Linked DNA regions of Homo sapiens: region 1 is linked to region 2. The links are contacts of gene promoters, found by promoter capture Hi-C in blood cells and fetal thymus (Javierre and others, 2016). All regions are on one chromosome and are shown on one strand. The core of a region is centred on a gene start or on the middle of the fragment in contact, and the rest is flanking DNA. Distances in the headings are between cores, read along the strand shown. Region 1 holds the start of RTN4RL2 (reticulon 4 receptor like 2). Region 2 holds the start of YPEL4 (yippee like 4).

Region 1 (7,781 bases), core at 4,658-7,157, 190 kb before region 2:
GGGGCCTCATGTCCATGCACATGAATATCCAACCAACATGTCTAAGGCCCAACCACACCCTCTCCAAACATCTGCCCCTTGGCCACCCTTTGGCCATGGGTTCATGCACTGGCAGAAAGGTAGTTCAGAGAAGAAGCCCACAAAGGGCCGGGAAGTCCACTTGGGCTTTTTGAGATTCCAGGGTCCAGGATAACCTAAGTGTGGTCTAGAAGAGAGATGCAGCTTCTGGGAGGCACATTCCTTGGTCTTAGGGACTTCTTGCCCCCATGGAGGGAAACTGGCTAGATGAGGGCCAAAGCAGAGCCCTCTAAAGCACAGGGCTCAGGGAAGGACTCTTTTTGACCAGATCTAAGAGCAGCACTACCTCTCTGAGCCTGTTTCTCCATCTGTAAGAAGGGGACATTAATAGACTCTCCCCGCTAGAGTTACTCTACATCAGCCAGCACACGTAAGTTCATGACATGAAGCAAGGGCTTAATATATACCCGTTGTACTATAAATAATAGGCCAGGCCTGGTGGCTCACACTTGTAACCCCAGCACTTTGGGAGGCCGAGGAGGATGGATCACAAGGTCAGGAGTTTGAGATCAGCCTGGTGAAACCTCATCTCTACCAAAAATACAAAAATTGGCCGGGTGTGGTGGCGTGCACCTGTAGTCCCAGCTACTTGGGAGGCTGAGGCAGGAGAATTGCTTGAACCCGGGAGGCAGAGTTTGCAGTGAGCCAAGATCTCACCATTGCATTCCAGCCTGGGTGACAGAGCAAGACTGCATCTCAAAATAAATAAATACACACATACATACATACATACATACATACATACATACATACATACATACAATACATGGACAGGGACCCTAAAAATGAGACAGGGAAAGAGAAAAACATGTTCTGACAACCTTGCCCTTTATACTAATTTAGGTTTTCTTGCCTGTTTTAGAAAGGGCCTGGACAGGAGCCCTGTTCCCCTCAGGCCAGGCAGAACAAGGTGTGGAACTCACTGTGGAAGGGTTCTGGGTGACAAGTGCAGCCCCGTCCCTCCACCTCCCAGCACAGTAGGCAGCACGTGTCTCCATTGACTGGCTCAGGAGCAGGCCTGGTGACCAGTGGGAGAGCTGAGGAGCCCAGGGTGGGGTCTGAAGGAATCCCTAGAAAATCTGATTTTCCCCCAGGGCCCACATCACGTGCCCAGAGCTGGGAAAGTGGAGGCAGCATGGGATCTAGCTGAGAGGCTCCATTTTTGGTAGCTTCTAGTTTGGGAGTCACAGAGACACCTGGATGATACGAAGATGTAGCTTTGCAGGACTCTCTAGAACATGGAGTCCAAGATATTCCCTTCAATGATGGGACACTGAAGCCCACAGAGGAGAGGTCTGTCCCAGTTACTCAGCCATTCGGAGGCAGAGACCAGGCTAGAACTCAGGACTTTTAATTTGGACCAGGATTCCTTTTACCACAGTGGGCAGCCCTAGCAAGTGCCAGGTAGGGTGGAACTGTGAAGGTCATCCGAGGGGTAGTACACGTGGGTAGGAAGTCATATCTAAGAACTGACCCCCAGACCTGGCTCTGCCACTCACTCCTTATGAGACCACAGGTGCTGGGTGCAGTGGTTCACACCTGCAATCCCAGCACTTTGGGAGGCCAAGGCAGGCAGATTGCTTGATTCCAGGAGTTCGAGACCAGCCTGGGAAACATAGTGAGACCCCCACCTCTACCAAAATTAGCCAGGCGTGGTGGTGTCTGCCTGTAGTCCCAGCTACTTGGGAGGCTGAGGTGGGAGGACTGCTTGAGCCTGGGAGGCGGAGGTTGCGGTGAGCCAGGATCATGCCACTGCACACCAGCCTGGATGACAGAGTGAGACAGAATGACACACTGTCTCAAAATAAATAAATAAATGACAGCAGATCATCATTTTTCTTTCTGCCTCTAGACTGCAATGCCTATTTCTCCAGGTAGTCACTAGGATAAAAGTAAAAATAATATTATCAGCATTTACCAAATACAGGGTCAGCTACTCTGTTATGTTCTTTCATGCTTTGTTTCTTTTAAGCCTCAAACAACTCTATGAGCTGGGAACAAGTATCGTCCTTCTTCCTCCCATCTTATTTATTTATTTATCTATGTATTTATCTATCTATTCATTTATTTATTTATTTTGAGACAAGGTCCTTCTAAGTCACCAGGGATGGCCTCAAACTTGAGCTAGGAACTAGTGTCACCACCCCCCAATTTCTTTTATTGATTGATTGATTGATTGACTGACTGGTTAATTTTGAGGCAGGGGTCTCGCTAAGTCGACAGGGCTGGTCTTGAACTCCTAGTCTTAAGCAATCCGCCCGCCTCAGCCTCCCAAATTGCTGGGATTACCAACACGAGCCACCATGCCCAGCCCCTCCCATCTTCTGAATAGGAAAACTGGGGTTTGAAAAGGTAAGCGACTTGCCCAAGGTCCCCTCCCTAGCTAGAGAGCTTCAGAGCCAGGGCACAAACCCATCAAAGCCTGTGCTCTCGCCCATTGAGCCACCGGACCTCGTACACTAACCGCCAAGTGTTCTACACAGTGAAGGTGACAAAGAGGTGAAGGGAAGAGCCAGGGAGGTTCTGTGGACTCACTCGGTGGGTATGCCCAGAGGGAAGGGGGATCTTGGGTGGCACATTGAGAGTAGCTGCGCTGTTAGTAAGTGAGAACTCGGAAGTCCAGACTCATCCAGTCTGTGCCAATAAACCCCTCCTTCTACCTGGTCTCCTTTCCAAAGCCAGCTGTTCTCCAGACAATGGGGTGGGCGGGGGCGGGTGTCCTCCTCCTTCTCAGGGAAAATCCGACGCTGAGCCCATCTCCAGAGATCTTGGCTTCCCGTGGGGCTGCAGATCCACCTAGAGCCACCAGAGGGCGGGCCAGCACTGCGGCCAAGGCTTGAAGACCCAGCACACCAAAGCCCGGCCAAGCCTCCAGCCCAGTGTCCAAGAGTCCAGCCAGAGGCCGAGTCCTCGATCTCAAAATGTCTAACTGCAGAAGCCCAACTCATGTTCAGGCATGATGTGTCTGATTCTACTGGGACAATCATTGCCACCAAAGAATTACTGCCAAAATAGTAACGACATTAGCTACCTACCACCCCTCCACACACCAACACACCTCATTTTACCAAGCACTTTCTCATGCCTGGGGTGCCTGGAGACTTAATGCAGCCTCGCGATGACCGGGTAGCCTCACCGTACAGATGAGGAAACTGAGGCACAAGGAAGGGGAGTACATTGTCTAGGGTCACCTGGAGAACTCTGATCTCCAGACTCAAATTTCCAATTCGTCCCCCCTCCCCCCAACCCTAACCGGAGCTAGGTGGGGTGGGGACAGCAAATGTGGATGGGGGGAGGTAAGAGGGGTCAGAGTGCTCTACAGAGAAGACCAAATGCATTGTGGCACCTACTGTAAAATGAGACCAGCCAGCCACCCACCCACCAGCCAGCCACCTAAAAGTCTTCAGTGGGCACCTGCTGGAAACACGACAATGGATGACACGAGTTCCCTGCCCTCAAAAAGCTGGTAGTCTAGTTGGGGGTGGAGGGGGTGAGTCAGCAGATAATTATGGGAAACCGTGACACCTGTATAAGGGGCGGGGATGAGCAGAGGGGCTGCGACTGCCTGGAGCCAGGGATTCCCGGACGGGGCTTCCCTTTCCTCGCAGCTCGTCCCAGGAGGAGGAGCTCCCCCCCAGCTTCGGGGTTCCGCCTGCCTTGGGGGCCCGGGGTCCCCTCCCACCCCTCCCCGAAGAGCGCGGGCCCCGGGAACCGATGACAGCACACCTGAGTCAGCCCGCCGCCCACCCGCCCCTCAGCGTCTGTCTCCGCATCTTGTGATATTTCGCTCCCCGGGAGCCAGCCCCACTGCGCTCCGGAGGCAGCTCGGCAAACAAACCCAGCGACAGATTGTGCCGCGGCTCATTCCGGGGAAGGACGCCAAACCCCACCCTGCTACCCCCAACACTCCCTCCCCGCCGCCGCCTCCAGGCCCTCCCCCCAGGCGCAGGCCCTAGTCGGGGTGGGTCCTGGGGAAACGCAGGGTCCTGTCCTGCCTCCTGGAAATAGGGGGAGCCCTGGGTGAGGGAAGACGGGAGCCCCAGAGACTTTTCTTTCTGTTTCTACCTGATCCGAAAACGAGAGGGGCGGGAAAGGAAATTTAGGGGCACAGAGAGGAGCTGGGGGGCCGAGAAGGTCCGAAAATGGAACCAGCAGGGGGCACCCGAGAGCCGAGGTGCCCACGGGCCGGGAGCCTGGGAATGAAACTGGGGAAGAGGGGGAGAGAAAGGGAGGCAGAGACACCGAGACACACAGAGACGAGAGACAGAGACGCAGGGAGCCCCGCGGGGAGGAGGAGAGAGACGAAGACACAGAGAGACAGTGAGAAAGACAGAAGACCGGGCAGGGAAACAGACGAGTAGAGACAGAAAAGGTCCGAGAGAGAGTGAGGGAGGGAGGGAACAGAGAGACAGAGACCACGAAATATGAGTAAGAGTCGGGGGAGAAAACCAGAGAAATCGAATGAGAACGCGAGAAGAACGAGAGACCGTGGAGGGAGCAGAGAATGAATGGGAAGAATAAGACCAACATTTATCAAGAGCCGACTGTATGCCAGGCACTGCATTGGACCCTGGCACGGATAGGAAAGGAGGAGCCGCGGCGCGGGCAGCGGGGCGAGGGGCTTCTGTGCTCGCGGGAGCGGCAGCCCAGGGGGCTCAGCAGCCCCGGCACCGCCGCACCTGAGGCTCCAGCAGCCCCAACCCCGCCAGCGCTGCCTGGCCACCGTACCCGAAGCGGCTCCCCCGAGGGCCCCGAGCCTATCCTACGCCGGGGCGGCTCCGCGGACGCGCCGGGCCGAGTCAAGACCTGGGTCAACCGCCCTGCAGCCTTTGTAGGGAAGTGCCTAGGTGATGGGTCTGCTGATACCGCCTGTGACCAGGCCATGAAGGGCCAGAGGGGCTCCAGTGAGACCATAATCCGCCCCTCTTTAAAAGGGGGTAGAGGAAGTTCACGCGAAGCCAACAGTCTTCTCCCCAGCTTTGGGTCCTCTCCTGCACCCCCGCGGGAGATAAGGTCTCCCCTCCCGGACACATCATACATACACAAAAAAACGCACACACTCGCACGCGCGCCCATCTCGCACCCGCTTGTAAATGCACTAAGGGGCATACACACACCGGGCACATATTTCTTTCCACCCATCCCCAAGATCGCAAGCGCAAAACCTCGCACAGCCTCACGTTTCCCACCAGCTCAGACATGCACGCTGGCGGACTTTCAGCGGCTCACCCGTGTGCACACTCACGTGCCCCCCCCCCCGCTTCCCCAAGCCCGTACAAAGGGTAACGGGCAAGCATCCTGAGTCACACCTGCACAAGCATCCTTGCGCGCACGTGCACGCTCATATGCACTCGATCTTGCACGCACAAACTCTTGCATATACTATTCTTATAGTCGCACACTGGGCTTGAGGTCTGGGAGTGGAAGGAAAAGTGGAATCTTGGAGCTGTCCCAGGGGACAGAAATGCTGGAGGCTGGGACACTGGCGCGAGGGACGCGGCTGGGGGCGGGGGAGGGGGTGACCCAGAAGCTCATCTTCTCCTGGAAAGTTGGGAGGGGGGAACAGGACAAGTCCACGGCGTTCCTCTAAACTACCGCATTCCCCCAAGAAGGGATTTCTCTAGAAGAGTGGCGCCGCGAGGACGATCGAACACAGTCCTCCGGGTCGCTTAAGCGGGGGGGAGGGGGGCGGGGTGGAGGGGGTTAGAAAGCCGCTCCCGCCTCCTAGTGGTCGAGAAAGGGTTAAGTCGGCAAGCCAGCAAACGAGGGAGGAGCCAGCGAGTGCGGGAAGGAGTGGGGGTGGTTGGGAAGAGCTTCCTCGCTGTCCCCACTCTCCCTCGGCTAGCAGCCTGGGCACACGGACAGACGGACTGACGGACTCTCGAGCGGACAGCGCAGCTAGCGGGGCGCGGGCGCTGGGCGTCGACGGCCAGCCCCAGCCTTCCCCGCCCCGTCGCGCCCCGCCCCGTCCCGTCGGGGCCGATGGCTCCTCCCGAGGCCCGCAGCCCGGGCGGCGCAGGGTAGAGCGCCGCGGCCCGGCCACGCAGCCCGGGGACTCCCGGGCCCTCCCGGAGCCCCGCGGGGTCCCCGCCGTGCATCCGGCGGGCTCAGGGAGCGAGTGGGAGCGCCCTCCCCCCGCTGCCCCCTCCCCCGAGCATCGAGACAAGATGCTGCCCGGGCTCAGGCGCCTGCTGCAAGGTAAGAACGCCAGCGGCGGGAGAGCGGAGGGCATCCTGGGGAGAGAAGCAGGGCGTCCCCTCTTTCAGGGATTGAGGGTGGGGCAGTTGGGGAGGTGGGGTAACCTGGGGAAGGGGAAAAGCTCAGCGCTGGGGCCGCGCCCCCGCCGCCAGGGCTGTTCTCAGCAGGAGGGCACTTGGCTGGGAGCCCGCGGGCGCGTGCGAGGAGCTCGTGACCGAGGTGGGACGCAGGGGGCAGGTGGACCCGGCCCGGAGCGGGGAGGGAGGCTCAGGTTCCGCTGTCCCCGCTCCACCTGCTCCGGGGGACGCTGAGGACTCGGGCCGGCTGGGGAAGCGCCGACTCAGCAACTCCTCCTGCCCGGTGCCTCAGCACTTTCTGGCCACCTGGGAAGACAGGAGATGTGGGTAGGGGGCTGTCTGGGGAGGTAGGAGGCGCAGAGGGAAATCCAAGTGGCCCTCTCTGGTAGGAGAGATGGAGGGCGCTAGAAAGAGGATAGTTCTACTGATTGAGTGACAGATAAGGGTGTGGGCCAGAGACTGGGGGTGGGGTGGGGAGGGGTCAGGGGGAGAGGGATAGGAAGGAGAACTCAAAGATGGAGAAAGTGGTGAGGGAAGCTCAAAGGAGGAGGGAGATGGAGCGGGGGAGGGGGAGAAGGAATAAAGGTTAGATGGGAAAAGCGTGGAGGGAAGTGGGACCCAGGTGAAGACCAAGGAAGAGGGAAGGAGAGGAAAGACCAGATCAGGGGAGGGATGGGAAGAAGACTATGGACAGGGACCCAGAATCCTGGGATGGAGGTAGCGGGAAAGAGAATCAGGACTGGGACCCTGGGGACTGGAATGGAAAAGGAGAATGGAAAGATCAGAAACCAGAGAAGGATGGGGATGGTGACTAGAGAAGGGGTATCAGGAACCGGCGAAGAGGGTTGGAGACAGGGAACCATGGATGGGAGAGGGGCTGGAGAGGAGGGAAGAGGAGGAGGAAGAGAAAGGCTGAGAGAGAGGGACTGGGGATTGGGGGTGCTGCCCAGGGATGAGACAAAGAGGCTTCTGGTAACCACTTCCACGTGGGAAGCCCTCCATTCCCAAAGCGCCTGCCTGCCACATTTCTTCTCTCAGGGAGTGGCTGGTGGGCCAGATGGGGGGTGCTTTGAGCTCAGGGCCCTGGGGGTGGCTGTGAGGGACAGAGGGTGAGGACTTTGGAAGGGGAGTGACAGCCTCCGAGGGTGGGCAAACAGGCTGGCTCCTGTGCTGCCATTTATTTATCCGGCCTGGACGTTGGATTCTGCAGCCGCTGCCGCCACCACGGTGGCTGCTTATTTTGGGGTGTTACATTCTGGCAGAGTGAGAAGCTGTTTGCAGCAGCTCTAAACCTCCGTCACCCGCGTCAGTGCCTCCCCAGGCCCCTGCGTCACTGGCATCACCACCACCTCCATCCCACTCCTCAGCTCCCACCTCCTCAGCCCCTGCCCCCTCAGCATCTGCCCGCAGGCCCCAGCCCTTCCCTGA
Region 2 (7,010 bases), core at 933-3,432:
TCTTTGTTTGCAATACAATTGGTCCTTTATACATTTTGGGGAGGGGGGCAGGAGGTGTAAGGTGAGGGGAGGGAGAGCATGCAGGCAGGTATACAAACCCTGATTCGGTTCTCTCCTGAGGTCAGGGTCCTGTGCTCTGGGACTCTTCACTAGAACTTTATAGATGTTTCCAACAGTACCAAAGCCCTCACGTGTGGCCGCCCATTCTCGCACCTTGGTTCACTCATTCTGGCCCAGAATAAGCACCTGCCTGTCTTCCCAGCCTGTGGGCCCCTTGGTCTTTCTCTCTCCTAGTCTTTACTAACTGTTGCCTTAGCCCTTGGTTAAAGACTTAGGCAGAAAATACATTTTCTTCAGGCAATCTGACAGCTGGAGCCAATGGGAAATGGGTAGCATGTCAGAGGAGCCTGATTCCTGGGCTGGGCAGGGCTGTGTGGTAGGGTGAGAGCAACGGCCACAACGAACAGCAGAAGGGGGACTCTTATTTTTAACAGCTGTGCTTTGGGGCACAAGGCAGAAAATGTTTCTTTCTACCTTCTCCCAGGGGCAGGGACAAACAGCAGTGACTCTGTGGGTGACTGAAGATGAAGTAATTGCTGGGTTCTGATTAGGAATAGAGGAAGATTGCCTTCTGCCCACGCGCCAGCCTCCGAGTGGCTGAAGGTGCTGGAGGCAGAGGATAAGAAGGGAGGTGGCCCCTGTTGGCTCCGATAAGCAGGTGAGCTGCTGCTTTCTCCTTCATAGGGCTTCCCAGCCCACTGTGGGTGGTTAGCCTAAGTCTGGTTCAGAGATGCCAGCTGGGCACTCTGGCAATGCTAGAGCACTAAGCAGAGAAGAGGCAGTGTTGGCTCTGGTTAGCCAGGGCATACAGGCTCTCCTCGTCCTGTCCTCCGCAGTGGCCACAGGCACCCAGCTGTTCCACTCTCTCTGAAGGCCGCCAGGCAGTCTCTCCGCAAAACCTCCATAGAGACTATCTTCAGTTTCAGGTCCTCTCCTCCGGGCTGGGTCCCAGGAAGACACCTTGGGCTGAGTTCAGGGTGACATTGGGCTCCGGCTGCAGGAAACGGGCCCTCCTTGCCAAGAGACCACCTTTCAGTCTCTGCTTCACAGGTTTGCCTTCAACTTTGCCAGCGAGTTCCCCTCTGACATGCACCACCTTGAAACACCTTCTTCAAGGGGCATGGAGAATGGGGCAGCTTGGGTCCCCAATCCTGAGCTCCTTCTCCAGCCTCCGGCCGTCACGCCTCCCTCCCTCTCCCCTAATTCCCAGTCAAGCCAAGGAAAGGCTGCACAGAAGGCCAGAGAATCACAAAGGGGAGTAGGGGTCATTTTTTCACCCATCTCGGATCACAGGGAGAAGCAAGTTGGGCAAATGACTGGAGAAAAAACAAAGGCAAGCCGAGTGCTGGGGAGAGATGTTCCCCTGAAGTGAGACGGGGCTGGACCGTAGGAGAAAGGGGAGAGGGAGGGCTGGCGGGGGCAACTGACAGCTGACAGCAGAGGCGCCGAGGCGGAGGCTGGAGGAACCAGGTGCGAATCTCGTGCTTCTCAGGGGGGAAAAGAAAAGGGGGGGGACACCTGCTCACAATGGATTTTCTCATCTGCTCTGAGGTTTTGGCACCCCCCAGGCTGGTATTCTCAGTATGGTATGGTCCAAATAATTAGCAGCACCGCCAGCTCCCAGGGCAGGCTTTGGGGGTCTGCACCAGCAGCAAAACAATAAACAGTGATGCCTGATGCTGCAGCCAAAGTTGCCGGGAAATAAGTGCGGGAATCGTCAGAGCTTGGAGAGGGATGGAGGAACCGAGAGAGAGGAGCGGAGGCAGCGGGGAGGGGGAAGGGAGGACAAAGGGTGGATGAATAATGCTTTTGCAAAGGGGAGAAAGCAACACGCAGCAGGAGGAGGAAATTTGCAAAGAGAAAAAAATTCATTTGGAGAAGGGCTGCCCCCTCACCTTGAGGTCTGCTCCAGAGATCTCCGTCTATCTCTCTCTCTCTCTCTCAATCTCTCAATCTCTCTGCTCACTCTTCTCTCTTCTCTTTCCGCTCCTTCAATTGGGAAGGGGATGGGGGTGGGTGGGGGGAGGGTAGTTGGGGGCTCAAGACTGGGGCTGCAAAGCTGGCCAGCTGCTGGGGGGGCAGAGGTTGTCTCTCGTTCTGTACCTCGGTCTGTGGGTGAATGTGGCTGTGTGTTGTGGAACTGCATCATAACACTGTGAGTCATCCATCCCCCCCACCCCCCCTCACCTCCCACGTCAGAGCAGGGCTGGGAGACACAGGAGGCGGGTCGGAAGGAAGGGAGGGGGTAGGCATCAAGGGACGGGGCTAGAGGAGTGGGGGCCGAGGGACAAGGCGGCGATGGTGGGCAAGGGGAGAGGCAGGTTGTTAAGGAGGAAGGCAGTGGGGCCAAGGAGATACGAAGAACCTGGGGGAAGGACAGGGCTGGGCAAGGATGCAGTGAGGGTGGCAGGGCTGGAGGAAAGGAGGTGGCAAGGCTGGTGAAGGAAGAGATGGATGCAGAGTGAGGGAGCACACACACATTTAAGATGATACACTTTCCCATTTCAGCTTGGACACCAGCCCTGAAGCAGGGAAAAGACAGATGTACTAATTGTCATGGATGGCAAACTGTGCCCCCAAACTTGTACCAAGCCTCAAAGCCTTGGTTTAATACTCCTGAAGGAGTAATAGACCCAATGTGACATTTTGCATGCAGGAACCCCTTAACAGCTACCTCCATATTATGCGTGCTTCATGAATGGAGACACCTACGTTATATGAAGTTCTCTATTGGGCTGTAAACTTCCTGAGACAGGCCTTCTGGGAAATTACTCTCTACATCCCAGGACTGCAATGTCCAGTGCAGACCCGTGCATTTAGATGTTTCCAAAATAGCAGTTGTTTCCGCGGCATTATGTTCTGCTGGCCTAGAGGTCTTAGTTCCAGAGGGAGGAATGCTGCCACCAAGAGACACAACAATGATTCCATTAAACTGGAAGTTAAGATTGCCACCTGGCCACTTTGGGCTCTTCTTACTTTTAAGCCAACTTGCTAAGAAGGGAGTTACAGTGTTTGACCCAGACTATCAAGATGAAATCAGTCTACTACTCCACAATGGCGGTAAGGAAGTATGCGTGGAATACAGGAGATCACGTAGGGCGTCTCTTAATATTACCATGCCCTGTGATTAAGGTCAATGGGAAACTGCAACAGCCCAATCCAGGCAGGATGACAAATGGCCCAGACCCTTCAGGAATGAAGGTTTGGGTCACTCCACCAGGTAAAAAAAACATAATCTGCTGAGGTGCTTGCTGAAGGCAAACGGAATTCAGAATGGGTAGTCAAAGAAGGTAGTCATCAATACGAACTATGACCATGTGACCAGCTGCAGAAAATGAGGACTGTAATTGTCATGAGTATTTCCTCCTCCTTTTGTTAGGAACATGTTTGTGCATATATACACTTGTATTAAGAAAATATCTTCATTTTATTTCCTTTCTTTTGCCTTTATCATGTGACATAAGACTTACTGACTTGATATCAGCACTTAAGTGTTGTTAACTCTATGTAATAGCATTTGGGTTGGGGATTGGTGCGTTTCCGGTTGTACAAAGGATAGCTGTATTATGTTAAGCGTAATTATGACCTTATTATTGTCTTTATTTGAAGATCATGTATGATTTCAGGAGACGTGTATGGGTTCAAGTTGACAAGGGGTGGACTGGTGATGGTTAATATTGTCAACTAGATTGGATTGAAAGATGCAAAGTATTGTTCCTGGGTGTGTCTGTGAGGGTATTGCCAAAGGCGATTAACATTTGAGTCAATGGACTAGGAAAGGCAGACCCACCTCAATCTGGATGGGCACAATGTAATCAACTGTCAGCTAGGCCAGAATAAAAGCAGACAGAAGAACGTGGAAAGACCAGACTGGTTTAGCCTCTGAGCCTACGTCTTTCTCCCATGCTGGACGCTTCCTGCCCTCGAATATTGAACTCCAAGGTCTTCAACTTTGGGATTCGGACTGGCTTCCTTGCCCCTCAGCTTGCAGGCAGCCTACTGTGGGACCTCATCTGGTGATCATCTGAGTCAATATTCCGTAATAACTCTGATTTATATATACATCTATCCTATTAGTTCTATCCCGCTAGAGAACTCTGATTAATAGAGCAGTTGAGTTGCATCTTCAGACATGAACCAAGTGTCTGGCTTTGGTCTCAAAGAGACTGAATTAGACTCTTAGCTCTGCCAATTACTTGGCAGGAACCACTAGGCAAATTACTGATAATCTTTGTGCCTTAGTCTTACTCTTCTGCTAAATGAAGCTAATAATATTTATTATTATTAGCTCATGGAGATGCAGAATAAAGTGAGATAACATTTAAATGCCTGAAAAATGCCTGGCACATGATAGGCAGTAAACAGTAGTGTCATTTCAAAACAACATTCTCGCCAGGTGCGGTGGTTCACGCCTGTAATCCCAGCACTTTGGGAGGCCGAGGCAGGCAGATCACAAGGTCAGGAGATCGAGACCATCCTGGCCAACATGGTGAAATCCCCATCCCTAATAAATAACAAAAATTAGCTGGACATGGTGGCACGTGCCTGTAATCCCAGCTACTCGAGAGCCTGAGGCAGGAGAATCGCTTGAACAGGAAGTCAGAGGTTGCGGTAAGCTGAGATGGCGCCACTGTACTCACAGAGGTTGCAGTGAGCCGATCGCGCCAGCCTGGTGACAGAGCGAGACTCTGTTTCAAAAAAAAAAAAAGCATTCTTGGCTGGGTGAGGTGGCTCACACCTTGTAATCCCAGCACTTTGGGAGGCCGAGGTAGGCGAATCACCTGAGGTTGGGAGTTCGAGACCAGCCTGGACAACGTGGTGAAACCCCCCTCTCTACTAAAAATACAAAAAATTAGCCAGGTGTGATGGCGTATGCCTGTAATCACAGCTACTTGGGAGGCTGAGGCAGAAGAATCGCTTGAACCCAGGAGGCGGAGGTTGCAGTGAGCCAAGATGGGACCACTGCACTCTAGCCTGGGCAACAAAGAGAGACTCCGTCTCAAAAAAAAAAACAAAACCAAAAAAACAAAAGTGAAACCAAAACAGCATTCTCAATGTATGACCCCCAAAACCCAGGGAGGATTTATTATTAAATTCTGATATCTCAAGAGACACATGCCAAATTTTTGTCTTATGAAGACATTACATCTTTTGTTGCTATTTTTCTAGCAGCTTCCAGTTAAATTTCATTTGACTCAGAATTCATTTCTCATGGGGTGCTGTCCTGTGCATGTTACTAAAGTATGTGAACACAGAACATATCCCCTAAGACAAAAACCCTGATTTCTAACAGAGTCTAGCATTTAGCAAATGAAGTACGACAAAGATAGGGACTTCTAGAAAGCAGTGCTTGGGGGTGGTTTGTTTTTCTTCTCACACGTAAAGAGGGAAAAAAAAGTTAAGGCAGAGAAATGTGGGTAATGGGAGACATTGCTAGTTGAGCATGAAAATAAAAAGGGATTCTAAATATTTAATCAGGGAAGATTCTGGGGTTTAAAGTAAATTCTGAAAAGACAATGTGGGTGTCTTGAGGGATAGTACTAGAGATTTGGAATTGAGAGAAAAAGCTAGGTAAAGAAAGAAGAGAGAAGTGCTTTTGTTTGGGCAGCAGAAGAGAGGGGAGATAAAAGTAGAACACATGGACACAGGAAGGGGAACATCACGCACTGGGGCCTGTTGAGGGGTGGGGGGAGGGGAGAGGGATAGCATTAGGAGATATACCTAATGCTAAATGACGAGTTAATGGGTGCAGTACACCAATATGGCACATGTATACATATGTAACAAACCTGCACGTTGTGCACCACATGTACCCTAAAACTTAAAGTATAATAATAATAAAATTTAAAAAAAAAAGAAAAAAAAAGATTTTGAAAAGCAATTGTTGAGGAGAACAATGAGAAGTGGGAAAAGGCAAATGATTAGTTTTCAAGGCATGGATCGAAAGTTCTTTTGTTTTGTTTGTTTGTTTGTTTGTTCTTTGAAATGGAATCTCGCTCTGTTTCCCAGGCTGGAGTGCAATGCCATGATCGAGAATCACTGCAACCTCCGGCTCCCGGGTTCAAGTGATTCTCCCACCTCAGCTTCCTGAGTAGCTGGGATTACAGGCATGTGCCACCATGCCTGGCTAATTTTTGTATTTTTCGTAGAGACGGGATTTCACCATGTTGGTCATGCCGGTCTCGAACTCCTGATCTCAAGTGATCCACCCACCCTGGCCTCCCAAGGTGCTGGGATTACAGGCGTGAGTCACTGGGCCCAGCTCGGATTCAAAGTTTGGAAGCAGGCCGGACACCTGTAATCCCAGCACTTTGGGAGGCTGAGGCGGGCAGATGACCCTGAGGTCAGGGGTTCAAGACCATCCTGGCTAACATGACAAAACTCCTTCTCTACTAAACATACAAAAATTAGCTGGGCATGGCAGCGGGCGCCTGTAATCTCAGCTACTTGGGAGGCTGAGGCGGGAGAATTGCTTGAACCCGGAAGGCGCAGGCTGCAGTGAGCCGAGATTGCGCCACTTCACTCCAGCCTGGGCAACAAGAACGAAACTATGTCTCAAGAAAAAGAAAGAAAGAGAGAGAGAGAAAGAAAGAAAGAAAGAAAGTTTGGAAGCAAAAAGAAAATGATCAAGGATCTAGCTGGAGAGGAGAAAAAGAACATATGATGACGGTATTGTTTGGAGGTGGGGTGGAGATGGCAGGAGTGCTTGGTGAAAGATTAAAACTGAGAAAAGAGCTGGGCGCCGTGGCTCACGCCTGTAATCCCGACATTTTGGGAGACCGAGGCAGGTGGATCACCTGAGGTTAGGAGTTCGAGACCAGCCTGACCAACATGGTGAAACCCTGTCTCTGCTAAAAATAGAAAAATTAGCTGGGTGTGGCAGTGGAAACCTGTAATCCCAGCTACTCGGGAGGCTGAGGCAGGAGAACCGCTTGAACCCGGGAGATGGA

What was found. Contacts are between HindIII fragments. The CHiCAGO score rates a contact against its expected background, and 5 or more counts as called.
Region 1: a contact is called between the fragment with the promoter of RTN4RL2 here and the fragment with the promoter of YPEL4 in region 2, in 5 of 17 cell types (neutrophils, fetal thymus, naive CD4 T cells and 2 more). The highest score is 9.1, in neutrophils.

Annotation. Positions count from the first base shown.
Region 1 is chr11:57,454,621-57,462,401 of GRCh38, forward strand. It overlaps RTN4RL2 (reticulon 4 receptor like 2), which reads left to right and starts at 5,908. Exons shown (of 3, transcript NM_178570.3): 1 at 5,908-6,276. The coding sequence starts at 6,246. RefSeq lists silencers at 4,756-4,815, 5,915-6,184 and an enhancer at 7,620-7,781. The HindIII fragment of the contact is 14,932 bases long and covers 1-7,781 here.
Region 2 is chr11:57,647,730-57,654,739 of GRCh38, forward strand. It overlaps YPEL4 (yippee like 4), which reads right to left and starts at 2,183. Exons shown (of 5, transcript NM_145008.3): 1 at 1,956-2,183. It overlaps MIR130AHG (MIR130A host gene), which reads left to right. Exons shown (of 2, transcript NR_186232.1): 2 at 2,569-5,172. RefSeq lists an enhancer at 555-694. The HindIII fragment of the contact is 14,007 bases long and covers 1-7,010 here.